Regions from separate parts of the Homo sapiens genome. Here region 2 is linked to region 1. The links are contacts of gene promoters, found by promoter capture Hi-C in blood cells and fetal thymus (Javierre and others, 2016). All regions are on one chromosome and are shown on one strand. The core of a region is centred on a gene start or on the middle of the fragment in contact, and the rest is flanking DNA. Distances in the headings are between cores, read along the strand shown.

The links. The method cuts DNA at HindIII sites, captures the fragments that hold promoters and counts their contacts. A CHiCAGO score of 5 or more calls a contact.
Region 2: a contact is called between the fragment with the promoter of HOXC11 here and a fragment that was not itself captured in region 1, in 1 of 17 cell types (total B cells). The highest score is 5.9, in total B cells.

Annotation. Positions count from the first base shown.
Region 1 is chr12:54,011,934-54,018,614 of GRCh38, reverse strand. It overlaps LOC124902939 (a long non-coding RNA gene), which reads left to right and starts at 868. Exons shown (of 2, transcript XR_007063323.1): 1 at 868-1,811; 2 at 2,262-2,602. It overlaps HOXC8 (homeobox C8), which reads right to left. Exons shown (of 2, transcript NM_022658.4): 2 at 5,846-6,681. It also overlaps a transcript of HOXC4 not described here, a transcript of HOXC5 not described here and a transcript of HOXC6 not described here. RefSeq lists enhancers at 1-161, 93-162 and silencers at 203-472, 543-712. The HindIII fragment of the contact is 3,080 bases long and covers 2,161-5,240 here.
Region 2 is chr12:53,969,475-53,976,155 of GRCh38, reverse strand. It overlaps HOXC11 (homeobox C11), which reads right to left and starts at 3,030. Exons shown (of 2, transcript NM_014212.4): 1 at 2,233-3,030; 2 at 1-975. The coding sequence starts at 2,914. The coding sequence ends at 743. It overlaps HOTAIR (HOX transcript antisense RNA), which reads left to right and starts at 1,202. Exons shown (of 7, transcript NR_186241.1): 1 at 1,202-1,258. RefSeq lists enhancers at 730-879, 1,210-1,804. The HindIII fragment of the contact is 12,279 bases long and covers 1-6,681 here.

The sequences.
Region 1 (6,681 bases), core at 2,451-4,950:
CAGGGCCACGTACATTTGGAAGAAATTAAGCCACTGTGTTATGAAACCATATGCGTCGGGTTAAGACTATACAACAGGCCATTAGCACCAATTATTAGAGAGATCCCGAGTGCCCAGGACCCTCCCGCCGCCCCAGGCTGACGCCTCTACCCCATAAGCCAGCAGCCCCCGGAATCCTCACTGCCTCCACAGCACCTAGGAGACTCTACCAGGAGGACTGGGCCTGTCCCCGCCCAGCCTAGGGCCTTCCCCATTTCCACCTCCCCCCGAGGCGAGGCAGGTCCTAGCCCAGAGCAGCCATGCGTGGCGAGCGGGCATCCCGGTCCAGTGGGCATCCCGGCTGGGATGGCCGCGGCTGGGGGTGAGGGGCGCCGGACCCCGGAAGGGAAAGCCGGTAGGCCTCTTTTCTCTGAGCACAAGATGGCTTTTGAGTACAGCATCCCCCACCCCCACCCTACAACCTCCACCCTCCACCCAACGCAGGGCACCTCCCACCCTTCCATCCGCCCGAGTGGGGGCGGGAGCAGGGGGTGGGCAGACGCTCTCCTCTCGGCTGACGCGCACCAGCCACCAGCCTCCCCCCTAATTGCCAATTAACAGGCCCCGCCGGCCGCCTAGCTGCGCCGGCTTCCTGCTCGGCGGCCCGGCCCTGGGCCCACACTGCGCATGTGTGAGCTCTAGCAGTCGCGCTCTCTGGGAGGGAGGGGGCTGCCAGACAGGGAGGGGAAGCTGGAAAGTTTGTTTGGGGGTTGGGGGGCTAACTTTGCTTAGGGGGCAATGGGCACAGCCTCTAAGTTCTCTCTCCTGCCTGGAGCTTGAGCTTCCAGTTCCGCTCCGACCCAGTTCCATTAGCCAAGAGACCGAAGATCTATAATAAGCAGGTACTGACACAGTGGGCAGCAGAGAGCTGGCGCCCTAGACCGCCGGCTTGAGCCCCACAGGTGCTGTTCCCTTGCCTCCCCACCCCCAACTTGGCACACAGTGACATCAGGACAACACAATCGCCCCACTACCAGTTACCGGTATTCCAGTTTAACCCCGTTTCTCTCCCCCCGCCAATTTTCCTCCCCATAATTAACTACGCGCCCACCCTCTCGCCAGCCCCCTCTTCTCCCTAACCAAGAGAAGCCGCTGCTGTCCTATTCTTGAAACCGCCACGGACCATTAGTTACATATTTGAACCAATAAGGAAACACTTACCGAGCGCTGCTGTCACTCTCCCTCTCTCCCTCTCTGCCTCTCTCTCTCCCACTCTCTTTCTCGTCTTCCCTCATTCTGTGCCGCTGCCGAGCCTGTCTCAGCTCCACACACACACACATATACTTTATATAAATTCAAAAATAAAAATAATTATAATCATCCAAAAGCCAAACAAAATTAAGGAGAGTTGCAAGAAGGGGGCAGGAGGAAGAGCCTGGGAGAGAGGAGGGGCGGAGGCATCTGCAGCTCCCAAGCTCAACTCCTGCTCCTGCATTCCTCCTGCCCCTTGGGGGCCAGAGGGTCGGGAAGGAAGAGAGAGATGCCCTCAACTTCTGTCTCTCCCCTCCCATCCCCACCCTCCCCAGCTGCCCCCAGCTTCGGCAACTCCACCTGGGAGGAAAAAAAATTAAATGGGGGAAAAATAATTATTAATCAGATTAATTTAAAAAAAATACTGCTAATGAAGGGAGCGCCCAGGGCAGGTTTCCCTGGCAATGGTTAGGCTCTTACAGGGAGGACTGTTCTGCGGAGCGCTCGGAACGGACAAACCACAATAAAAAGTTCACGTTCATGGATGGAATCCACATGACTTCTTGTGGCCAATCCAACTTGTGAGTCGATCGTAAACTTTTATTACTCAGCTGTAAATTTTCTGCAAACAACCGGGAATGCGATGCATTTGTGTAGCGTGTGCAAATGGGCGCCGCGGTCGCCATGTTTACCCAATTCTCTCATAGAGGGAGCATCCCCGGACCCCCACCCCACCCCTACCCCCACCCACCGCCCACTCCCCACGGGCCAGGCTGCTGCAGGCGAGCGCAGAAAGAGCTGAGGGCGGACGCCCAGGCGAAAGAAAGCTTCAAGCACTGAGGGTCGGTTGCCTCTCCTGGCTTGCCGAGTTTTAAATATTGTCCTTAATAAATGGGGGCATTAAGGTTGGATCAGGCGGAATTCAAAGCTTTGCAAAGATTTGTGGCCTTGAGGCAGTGATGGCTGGTGAATTGCAGGGATTGAAAGGGTGCCTCCCTACCCCTACCTTTTTTTTTTTTTTTTTTTTTTAGTAAGAGAACAACATCCCCTCTATGCCGTACCCCTGAAAGCTCCTACTCCACCCTAGACAGGAACAGTAGTGGAAGACCACTGGCAGCCACCCAACCAAACCTGACCTGGAGTGGTCTGAAGAACCTAGGGGACTAGACCTACCCTGGGCAATCCTGCAGTGCAGCAGGAGAGGTGAGAATTGGGGTCAACTTCTAGGACCCTCAAAACGACCCACATCCCCGGGGTCCCTTTCTTAGAGAGAATGACATTTTCCCCCAAGACCATCCCTAGTTTCCCTTCCCAGTTCAAATGGTGGCTTATTTGAAATCTTTTTACAATTAAAAATAAAATTAAAGCCCAAGATCTTGGTCTCTACTTCCTTTTTGCGGGGAGGGGTGCAAGGCAGTAAGCCTTTTGGATCGTGTCAGATTGCCCATACCCACCTGCCTTTCTCAGAAAAATTTCCTGATTCAATGTCTGGGCAGCTGGGATGTACTACCGAGGCCTGAAAAAATAACCTTTTACTGCCCTGAATTCCACCTTCTGTGCTAAAATTTCGAGCAGCCTGTTTTTCCAGACCCCTAATTTTGAAGGTGAGTCCAGAATAAATTCCCCCATAGAGACTATTTGCCGGGGGAGGGGTTGCAGGCAGGTCACTCTCCCCACGGGCTCGAGATTTGAAGGCCGGCATCTCTCCACTTGGTCCCGCATCAAGCTGGCATGGGAATCTCAATGGTTGGGTGCCTCAACCCTGACCAAGAGGGGATACCTCATGCCTTCCCCAGACTTCCTCCATAGTAAGAAAAGCAGTTCCCTAGGCCGGATGCAGGGACCTCGTTTCTTTTCACAAACCCACCCATAAATTTTATAACAGGTAGTTAAAAATTACGACAAGGAAGCGCTGGCCCAGCTTTTCACAATGGGCAGCGGGGAGAATGGGACGGCGCTGCGGGCAGCTCACCGGAAATTTTACTTCTAGACTGTGGCACAACCTGTCCTGAATTCTCCCTAATTGGGCGGGGTAACTTTCCCAGCCAGCAGGCAGTCATTAGGGCATCTTATCTGGGGAAGATAAGACTGGGGAGACCAAACCACTCGCCTATCCAAGGGTCCCTCAAGGAGCCCTTCAGGACGCTCACTACCTCTCTCACCCACCCCCAGATCTCTTGCAGGTCCGCACCTTCCTTGGCTGATGCAATGAGGGAGTGGGGAGGAAAAAAAATTTAATCCAGAGAAACGAATTTGCCCCCCAACTTAATAGCTGCATTATTCCAGCTCTACGGTTGAGATTAGAATAATAAATTCAAGGAGCAATGAGCGAGATGCTTCAACTCAGCATTTTGAAAGATACTATTTTTCACAAATCACAAATGGCTTTCGGAAGCCACTTTGATTGGCTAATAAAAAAGTAAAGAATGGGAGAGAAAGTCCTATCTGCAGCAGCCGAATGGTCCCCATTCCGGTAATGGGACGGCGGGAGCATTTGGGAGGACGCGATTCTAAAGAGAGCGCATCCCGCTCACAATTACGTTCCCCCATAAAACGGGTTTTTACCTCCATTTCTTTCCAAACGAGAAAACAGAGGCGGTGGGCAGGAGGGGTGGGGGAGCGGGTACTGCATGAGGGGGTGGCTGGGGCTCCCTCGGCTTAGCCCTCTCCATGCCTGGCATCTCGAGTAAAGCCGGGCGCCAGACGCACCCCGCCCTCCGACGCGCCGGGCTTGGGGCCACGGACATTGCTGAACAGGACAAGGGATAAATGGCACATTTGGTGTGGGGAAAAGGCGGCGAGGCCCTTCGGAGCCATTTAATGCTGGGTTCATTCCGCTAGGCTACTGGGCCAGATATTTTTATTAATAGCAATCATAATTCCACGTTTAAAAACGAAACGGGACCTCAGCCATCCCTCGGAGTATGGAGGACACGCCTGTGGGAAGGCCTGAGGTCTGAGCGAAATGGCCTCTTTTCTGGCTTCCCTGGTGGGTAGCCGGTGTCTCCCACTGAGAACAGGTTACCTGGCTGGTGCCGCTGCTCACAGCAGGGACCCCAGGTTAGAGAAGATTTCCCGGAGCTCCTGCTCAAAGCTGCCCCAGCTGCCTGCAGCCTGTGCTTCCAATTCACAGCCTTTCTCGGACTGCAGGAGTCCCCCTGTGAAGGAAGCCCGACTCAATTCTCTACTCAGGCCCGATTTTCAGGCCCGGTTTGCGTGGGGACCAGTGACTGGGACCTGGGTGAAATTCCACAAAACAAGAGTTGGCCTGGGCCTAGGTCTGGGAAAATCATTGACCAGGAGCTAGACAGATGAGGGGTGGGGAGGACAGAGAGAGAGAGAGAGAGAGAGAGAGAGAGAGAGAGAGAGAGAGAGAGAGAAAGAAGAGAAGAGAAGAGAAGAGAAGAGAAGAGAAGAGAAGAGAAGAGAAGAGAAGAGAAAAAGAAAGAAAGAAAATCTGGCCTCAAAAATATTTCAGCCTTCGGGGGTCTGGTTTTTAAGACCAGAAGATCCCTCCCCTCCCTTTTCCCCTCTCCTGACTGAGTCAGAAGACTTGTATCTCTGGAATTTGGGATTATTTGACCAGAATCTTATTGGCATAAACAGAATTTTTAAGTCCAGGACTCTCCAGAGAGAAGTGAGAGACCCTTCTACCCCCTGGGTCCCTGAGCCTTCAATTCTTCATTTTGGGGAATGAAGATACCAATAAAGACGCCCTCTTACCCCGCTGTGACTGGGGTGGCAGGATGTCCACTCAGCAGGCCCATCCTCCAGGCCAATGGCCCACACTATGGGGGCTGGGTAAGCTGACCAATTGCCAAGGTGAAGTGGGGAGTGGACTTTAAACCGTCTGAACAGAAGTTGGAGTGGATGCAAGCGGGCTGAATGACAGTGATGACAATCTTCCTGTGCAGAGGATTGAATGTGAATTTCAGGATGTGGGCTCAGGCTGGTTGCCTACGAGCTCACTTACTTTCCCCTTCCTTTCTCCTCTCCTTCAGGCTTAAGCTTCCTCACCCTCCATTCTTAGCATCCCCCATCTTCAGGCAAGCCCTGCAGACAGGCCAGCCAGTTGCCCTGAGCCTCACACATCCCCACCCGGTTCATTATTCTAGTGCTGGGTGCTGGGTGCTAAGGTCTGGCCACAAGGGGCATGCGGAGATCAGAAGGAATCCCACTATCTCATCCTCAGCCCCAGACCCTGGAAGAAAAAGTCATAGTTGCATAGGGCAGATTCTTTGTCTGGGCCCAGCCCAAGGCTGAGGAGGAGGAGGGTGGATGAGTGAGGAAATCTTTCTTCCCATTGGGATCCTGGCGTCTGGAAACCCACTTTGTTTGGAGCCAAGATTCCCCCAAGGGCATACCTATAGACTCCTTACTCTCTCAACCAATGGACTGCTCCTTTTCTTCCTCCTCTCAACCCCTCACCCCTTTCACCTGCCCTCCCAGGCCAGCATGCTTTCTCAATTCCCAGGCTTCTCTCCACGTGAGTTTCTGAACCCCAAAGCCAGAGCAGTGAAGCAGACCTTTTCCAGAGAGTTGGACAGGGGGATAAGGAGAGAGAAGGTAGAGAATAGGGAAGAGCTGTGGAGAAAAAGCAAGTCATTCCAGCTTCTATTATTTTTCTTCTTCTTTTTATTATTATGACTCACGTATACAATACAAAGTACTTGGACCAGGAACAGGGCTGTCGGGACACAAAATCTACATTCATAGCTGGACATAAAGACAAATGACAAAAAATTATTATTATAGATATATTTTTAACATTTTTTTCTTTCGAGCACATTGCATAAACAGAGAATTCAAGACAGAGTTAACTATACATTCAGTGCAATTTAGTTCTACTCTACTGGGGTTAGAAGCACAATAAAAGCGCACAGGACCGGCGGGCTAGGCAGTCTCAGTTGTTGGGTTTTCTTAGTGAAATAAGCAGCAACAAACGACAACAAAACCGCATTACAAATACTCTCAAAGCAGGATTTCTTTCTATAGGTAGTGATAAAATACGCTGGAGGTTTCTTTCTTTCTTTTTTTTTTTTTTGATTTTTATTTTTTTCTCTTTTTTTCTCCTATAGCAGGATTTTAAAATTTTTCTCTTTTTCTTTTTCAAGATTATTGCAGGTTCCCTTTAGGTAGTATGTTAAAGATTTATTATTATTATTTTCGTGATTATGGTGATTTCTGAGCACTAACACTAATGCAGCTCAGAGGAAGGCGGGCCCAACAGAATAGAAATCAAACAGCGAAGGAGAGGAAGGCATGGGCCCGAGTGACCATGGGATGGTTAGGTAGGATTTTAGAGGCGACTGCAGGCTCCTATCTACCCTTCTGGAAATGGGGGGAGGGGAAAGACCCACATCTCCTTCAGGTTTCCATCAGGTTCCTAGAGAAAGTCAAGGGGGTTTTTCTAAGCAGGGAGCCCTGGGGAGGGGGAGGGGGAGGGGGAGG
Region 2 (6,681 bases), core at 1,781-4,280, 42 kb after region 1:
TTCAATTTTCTTAAAAAAAAAAAAAAAAGAGGTAACGACTGCATAGACTATAGCTATAAATCCATGAAGTGGGGCACTGCTTGGAAAAAGATGTGGAAACCTCAATGCACCGATTAAGAAATTTCAAAGGAAGGTTCTACACATTCAGGGGGAGAACAACTAGGCTCGGGCGGGGCCTTGGCGAAGACGGAGGTAGGACACGGACTTTGCACACCTAACACCAGGTTGAAGGTACAGAAATTTCACAGCAAGGCAGGATCACATTTAGCTGCAAGGTGGGGCGGGGTAGAGGGGGGAGCTCGAGAAGTTTCCGCTGGCAGACATGCTGTCTTAGCGGATCTTTTCACATGGGCAAGGGAAGGCTTTTAGTTCGAGGATTGTTCGGCTCAGGCGCTCACTACTGTCGCCCCTCCCCCACCTAATCCGAGCAGCAAGACATTGTCGCCGAGGTGTGTTTTCTTTTAAATCAAAGTCTTGGCCTCGGCGCCAACGGTGTTCACTCGCCGTGCATCAGACACTTCCCTTCACCCCCTTTCCAGGCCCGGTCCCTGTCCCACAGCGAGAGTCAGATAGAGGGTCCAGGAGGTTCCGGAATGGAGTGCCGGCCACAGCGGTGGGGGCCAGCCCTGGCCACAGTCCAGTTTTCCACCGGCGGAAAGAAGACGAGTTAGAAAATAAAAAATAAAAATAAAATAAAATAATTTTCCCCTCCCCCCGCCCCCAAAAGGGCCCGGTCTGCAGGTTACAGCAGAGGATTTCCCGAGAAATACTGCAGCCGGTCTCTGCTCAGTTTCTTTTCTTTCATCCTTCTGTTCTGAAACCAAATTTTCACTTGTCGGTCCGTCAGGTTCAGCATCCGGGACAGCTGCAGCCGCTTCTCTTTGTTGATATACACGTTGAAGAAAAACTCTCGCTCCAGTTCCCGGATCTGGAATTTCGAATAAGGGCAGCGCTTCTTGCGGGTGCGGGGGGCGTCTGGAGGGAGGGGAGGGGGCAAGTGCGAGGAGAGGGGGGAGAGAGACACGTGAGACCCGGGCGACCCCAGCCCGCTGAGCGCTCAGCGGCCCTTCTCCTAGCCCACCGCGGGCAGCCCTCCCGCCAGGCGGCTGGCTCTCCTGCAGCCGCAGCACCCGGGCAAGCCTCGACCCCCTGCCAGGTCTAGCGGGTCCCCACCCCCCCGCCACTGCGCCACCCCGTCCCCAGTTCTCAGGCGAGAGCCGCGGCTGACAGGGTCTGGGACAGAAGGAAAGCCCTCCAGGTACACGTGCGTCCCCTCGGGCCCCCTGTCTGCTCCCCCTCCGCCCTCGGGCCCTTCCTGGGCCGCCCTCCTAGTGGTTCGGAAAGCCCAACCCCTCCCCCAGAAATCTGGGGGGAAAGCTGAGAACAGGCGCGAAGCAGTGAAATCTGGCGAGAGCAGTCGGGAGGCGGGGAGGAAGCCGGCCAGCAGGCACCGAGACACCAGAGAGCCGCTTCCGGGGCCCTGGCGCCCCGGGAAGCCCGCGGGGCAGCGCCTTCCACACCGCAGTTCTAGGCAAGCACTAAGGCCGCGGACCCGGGAGAAACGCCCAGACCCCCGCCTGGAACGCAGTGGAGTCCTGCGCCGCCTCGCCCCATTCCCCTGTCGCCGCTGACCCCAGAGTTGCTTGGGTTTCTGCTCGAGGACCCGCGAACACATAGTTTGAACATTTTCAAAACTAGTTTTAAGAAGGATCATAGCGGTCCTGGCTTGCCTCTCCGGTCTCAGGTTCTGCTCCATTGCTCCTCTCCCCCACCTCTCCCCCTCTCTGGATCTCTCCCTGTCTTTCCCTCGCCCTCCCCTTTCTCCCCCTCCACCCCTCCCCTCCTCCCCACTCCTCGGCAGCCCGGCTCCCCATACTTCCTTAAATGCTCCTCTAAGTTCACGATCAAAGTTAATATCGCCCGCAATGGTTGCGCTTTTAAAAATTTCACAGACCGAGGGAGATAACGGGGGAGGGGGGTTCACCCGGCTTTTCCAAAGAGCCCTTTTCCCTCCCTCCCCACCCCTTCTCCATCGTAAAAAGTCGAGTCGTTGGGAGAGAGGGCTTTGTAGGTTATAATAAAATCCTTTGAATGCTTATAAAACTCCACATAAAATCGGACTGACCCAAAACACGAGGCCGTCCCCGCTCCCCTTGCCTCCCCCCTTCTCTCGCCCTCCCTCTCTCGCTCCCTCCCTCGCTGCCCGCCCGTTCCCCGGCCGCTGCTACCTACTGGGGGCGGCTCCTTTGGCCGGCTCCTTGGCCACGGAGTGGGCTGAACCGGACGAGCTGGGATTTGTGTTCTCCTCCTCAGCCTCCGCCTCGGCACCCGCCTCAGCCCGGGACGCCAGTCCCGAGGCCGGGGGTGCCTCGGGCTCCCCCTTGGCCTCGCCCTTGCCGGAGCAGGGGGGCTCGGCGGGCGGGTCGCCGCCACCGCAGTAGGCGTTGTCGAAGAAACGGTCGAAGGCTTGAGGCAGGACGCTGTTCTTGTTGACTGAGGAGTAGAAGCCGGCGGGGGTTGCGTGCGGGGCGCTGGGGTGGTGGTGGCCGCCGTAGGAGCCTTCGTTTTTCATGAGGATCTCGGTGACGGTGGAAGGAGGCAGGCACTCCCGGTGCATAAGCTCGTCGGCCGCCGCATAGCAGGAGGAGTAGCTGTTCCGATGGTGCCACTTGCCGGATGGCTCCAGGCCGTAGGAGACCTCCCGGACCGGGGGCACTTGGGCCGAGTAGGGATAGGAGATCTGACGAGAGGGGGCCTGGGGCAGGAAGGAGGAGACCGTGGAGAACTCGGGCATGTAGTAAGTGCAACTGGGCAGATAGAGGTTGGAGGCGCAGCTCCCTCGCTCGCCGAAATCTGCGCCCCTCTCCTTGCGCGACGGAGAGCAGAAGTTGCCCAGGTTGACCGAGTTAAACATCGTTCTCCTCTCCTGCCGGCTCCGGATGGAGGTTTTGGACCCGGTCTAGCGAGGGGGGAAAATTTGGGAAGGCGAGATGACGCGTTATCCGTCTTAGTCTCTCTCTCTCTGAGCACGTGATCCAAAGTAGATATTGTCATATATCAGTTCGGAGCACTTCGCAGACGTAGGAGGGGTTCTCTCTTAGGTAAGATCGGGGACGTTCAGGCGATTGGTTTGCAAACACCGCAGAAACATTATGAAAATCAATTGCAGATTTGTATTCGTTTTTCTCTCGTCACTCCCCTTCTCTCCATACCACAGCACGAGCAAAGGAGGAGAGAGAGGGTTGGGGTGGGGTGGGCGGTGGGATGGGCGAGGGTGGTGGCTGGGAAGGGGTAATTGTATTTTTTTCTAGCTGCTGCTCTTTTTTCCCCCAGGATTGGGGGAAGGAGGAGGGCTCTCATGTATGGGGGTCTTGCCTCCTCTCTGTGAGCAGCACCAGGAGGGTGGGAGTGAGGACTTCTTTCCCCACTGCCTGATTTCCCCAGAGAAGTGAATCCTTTCCCTTAAATCTCAGGGACTCTTACCCTTCCAACCCGCAGAGACACCGCCTGTTCACAAGAGTTTGAAGAAGTCCACTCTTTTCCTGGCCAGAGCTGGGTGTCAAGACTACCTTTCTGGAGTCCTTAGAGAGACTCCCGGAAGAGTATCTGAAGTTTCCCAAAGGTGAGGCAGCCCAGCTGCAAGCCAGTGTCCCAACTTTGTCTGGCTTGCTGTGCTGCCCCTGGCTAGGGAGTCAGATTAGTCATAAACGAGTGGTGAGCAGTGCGCCAGCCGCCCAGCCGGTGCCTGGCGAAGTCTGGGAAAAACCTTCTCTAATGTTGTGTTAAATATTTAGTATGAGAGAGTGGCCCTGGGTGAATATTTCATGCCTGCCTTTATTGTCAATCAATGTGAAGAAAGCTACATCCACTGTGGATTTTCAAATCCCAAACCCCAAAGAAAAGGATTGGAATGAGAGCCATGTATCTTCTATGTCAGGGCCCTTTGGCTTAGTGGCTCAGCCTCAGCTAGTGCGCTGAAAAGAAGCCTAGTGTAGGGGTCCAGGAAGAATATGGTGGGGGGGACTAGGTTTGGGGTTCTTATCCTTGGATGATTTTGAGGACTGTAAGGTGGGTGGTGGGGCCAGGTATGGGTCTCCAGAAGAGACTAACCAGACAGTGGAAAGGAGCGGTGGATGCTGTGGCATCAGGGGAGGCCCAGCGGCCACTCCCTAGTCAAAGCCCCCAGCCTCTGTCCCTGGGGCTGTGACCAGATCTTAGTGCCTCCTTCCTATTTCTCAGCCCTGTCCTGCCCTCCTACAAGTCTGTCAGCCTCCTGGATAGCTGTAGCCCAAGAAGTAGGCTCAGTCATTCTGCATCCCCAACCCCTTGCCTTCCATCCCTCTGAGCACCACAGGACACATGTGGGCATCTGAAAATCACTTTATTGAAAGGTTCTGGACTGGGTCCAAGGGGCCAAAAGCAACCAGCATGAGCTGAAAGCAACCTTGGATCCAAAGAGGAGCTGCCAGGGCACAATTTGTTTGGGAAGGAGGGGAAGAACCGAAGCCCCCAAGGGCTCAGCCCAATGCACACTCAGGGGAAAACAAAAAATAGCCCGAACTCTCTTTACATCCATAACCCTCAGTTAAAATTAGTTTCCACTTAAAGAAATTAGAATGGATTTGTCTTGATGAAACATGATAAGGTGCTGCGGCTCCCAAACCAGATAAGGAGGACACAAAAAATTGTAGCTTGTCTCCATATGTAACCCCTAAAATCCATTCCTCCTCAATGCTCCTGCCTCCTCAAACTTGCTCAGCATTTAAGTGACACCTGAGTGGAGTCTGCCTCCACCATGGGTCCCATTCTCAGGGTGGTTCTGGAATACTCAGGGATAGGTCTCAGGTGCCCCTCTACGCACTCAATGCTGGGCGCTACTCCTTTAGTTCTGGTCAGATCTTAAACTGAAGCAAAGAAGAACTAGATTGGGGCTTTGCTGAAGTGTGAGACTTCTGTTGGTAAGGGGCCATGAAAAGAAAAATCTGCTGTGTTTCCTTTTTCCTCTAGCCCTTTTTATAGAGTGAGATGGGGCCAGCATTTTTAATTATAGTGGTGGGGAACTATGGACTATGGCTTTTAATGGGGTTCACACTGACCTCATTAAACTCGAGTTTATTGAAGGCAAAATGCTGCCCAAACAGTGATAGGAACCAGCAAGAGGGAAGCGAGAGGTACCCCTATCCTTGCAGAGGTGTGGATGAGGGCTCGAGTCTCAGATCCCGCTTTCTCCACTTCCACCCAAGGCTCTGCTTCCTTCCCCCTCCTGGCCCTCCAGGGTGATGTGGGGCCCAATCCCCCAAGGCAGATTCAGCAAAGCCAGGACTGAGATGGGGGTAGGGGCTGTATCCTGTGAGGAGACAGCTGCTGGACTGAGCACTTGAATTTGACCACCAAAGTTTATTCCTGGGCCACCATAAAAGTGAGCCAGGCGGCAACAAGGAGCTGCTGGCGGCCCTATTTCCTTGAAACAAAAAAGAAATGCAAGAAAGAATGTCAAAGAGTTGATGTCTAGGAAACGCTGGGGTCTCCCAACAGAGACTTCTGGAAAGTAATATTCCTCCCCTTAAAAGTAAGGCATAAAGTTTAAAATGTTCTCTAGTGTTGATATGGCTTAGTTTTTCAACAAATCAAAAAACCTCTAGCAACTGTCAGTTGCTGCTACGGTCAAGGAAAGAAGGCCCTGGCCACTGAGGTCAGCTAGACATTTACTGGCAAAAATGCCCATGGTCTGGAGTAGCCTCCCTGCCCAGCCCTGGGTCCAGGCTACCTGGACGCTTCAGCTGAGATGTTTGCCCTAGGCTGCACCCTCTCAGCCTGTGGATTCTGGCCACAGCATCAATACCTCCCTGTACAGGAGCCATCCCTGGCCCCCAATCCCTTCCTTGTCAAGCCCGCTCCAGGTGGCTTATTTGTATCTTATCTGGTGGGTGCCTGTGACCCCTCCATCTGCTTTGAGTCCTGGCCTTCACCTGAAATTCTCTGCAGCAGGGCCATCCGGCCCTCCCCACTGGCTCTTGGTGTCCTCAGTCAGCGCCATCAGCCAGCCTGGCTGCTAGCAGGCGGCTGCGGTCTGGGCAGCTGTCCAGGTAGCTGGACCAAAGTTAAGGCAGACTCCAGCACCCTTCCCTCCAACACACGGACAACAGGGGCAGCTTAAGAAGGGGACAGTGTCTCCTAAATTCTACCCTGGGCGGCTCCCAGAGCAAACTCCCGCACACAGCGTTGGGGCCTCCTGTTAGCTTGTCTACCTCCTCCACTGCTCTGGGTTCTAGAGAGCAGATCGTGGTAGGGAAAGGAGCCCATCCCACAGACCATGAACTGGGGAGGAAAATGCTGAAAGAAGAAATGGGGCCCACATATGCTCCAGTGGGCTTGGATTGTAAATTCAGCCTGTGTGGAGTCAATAAAAAGATAAGCGGAGAGAGTCCCACACATGGACGCTCTCGTTTGTTCACAGGCTGGGCCAGCAAGGAGACTTCATTAGAAATTGGCTTTCACCTTCTTGCCTATATTTCTCTCCCTTACAGTAATATCACTGCCTGCAATAATCCCTTTAGTATGCTTTGGGATTTTCAGGTCAGTGGTTTATCTTGCACCCGGGACACCCCAGCCCCAGCCAGGGAACAAGAAGCGGGTGGGACTGCTAGTTCCTGGCTTCCACCTCTTCTCAGACTTGGCCAT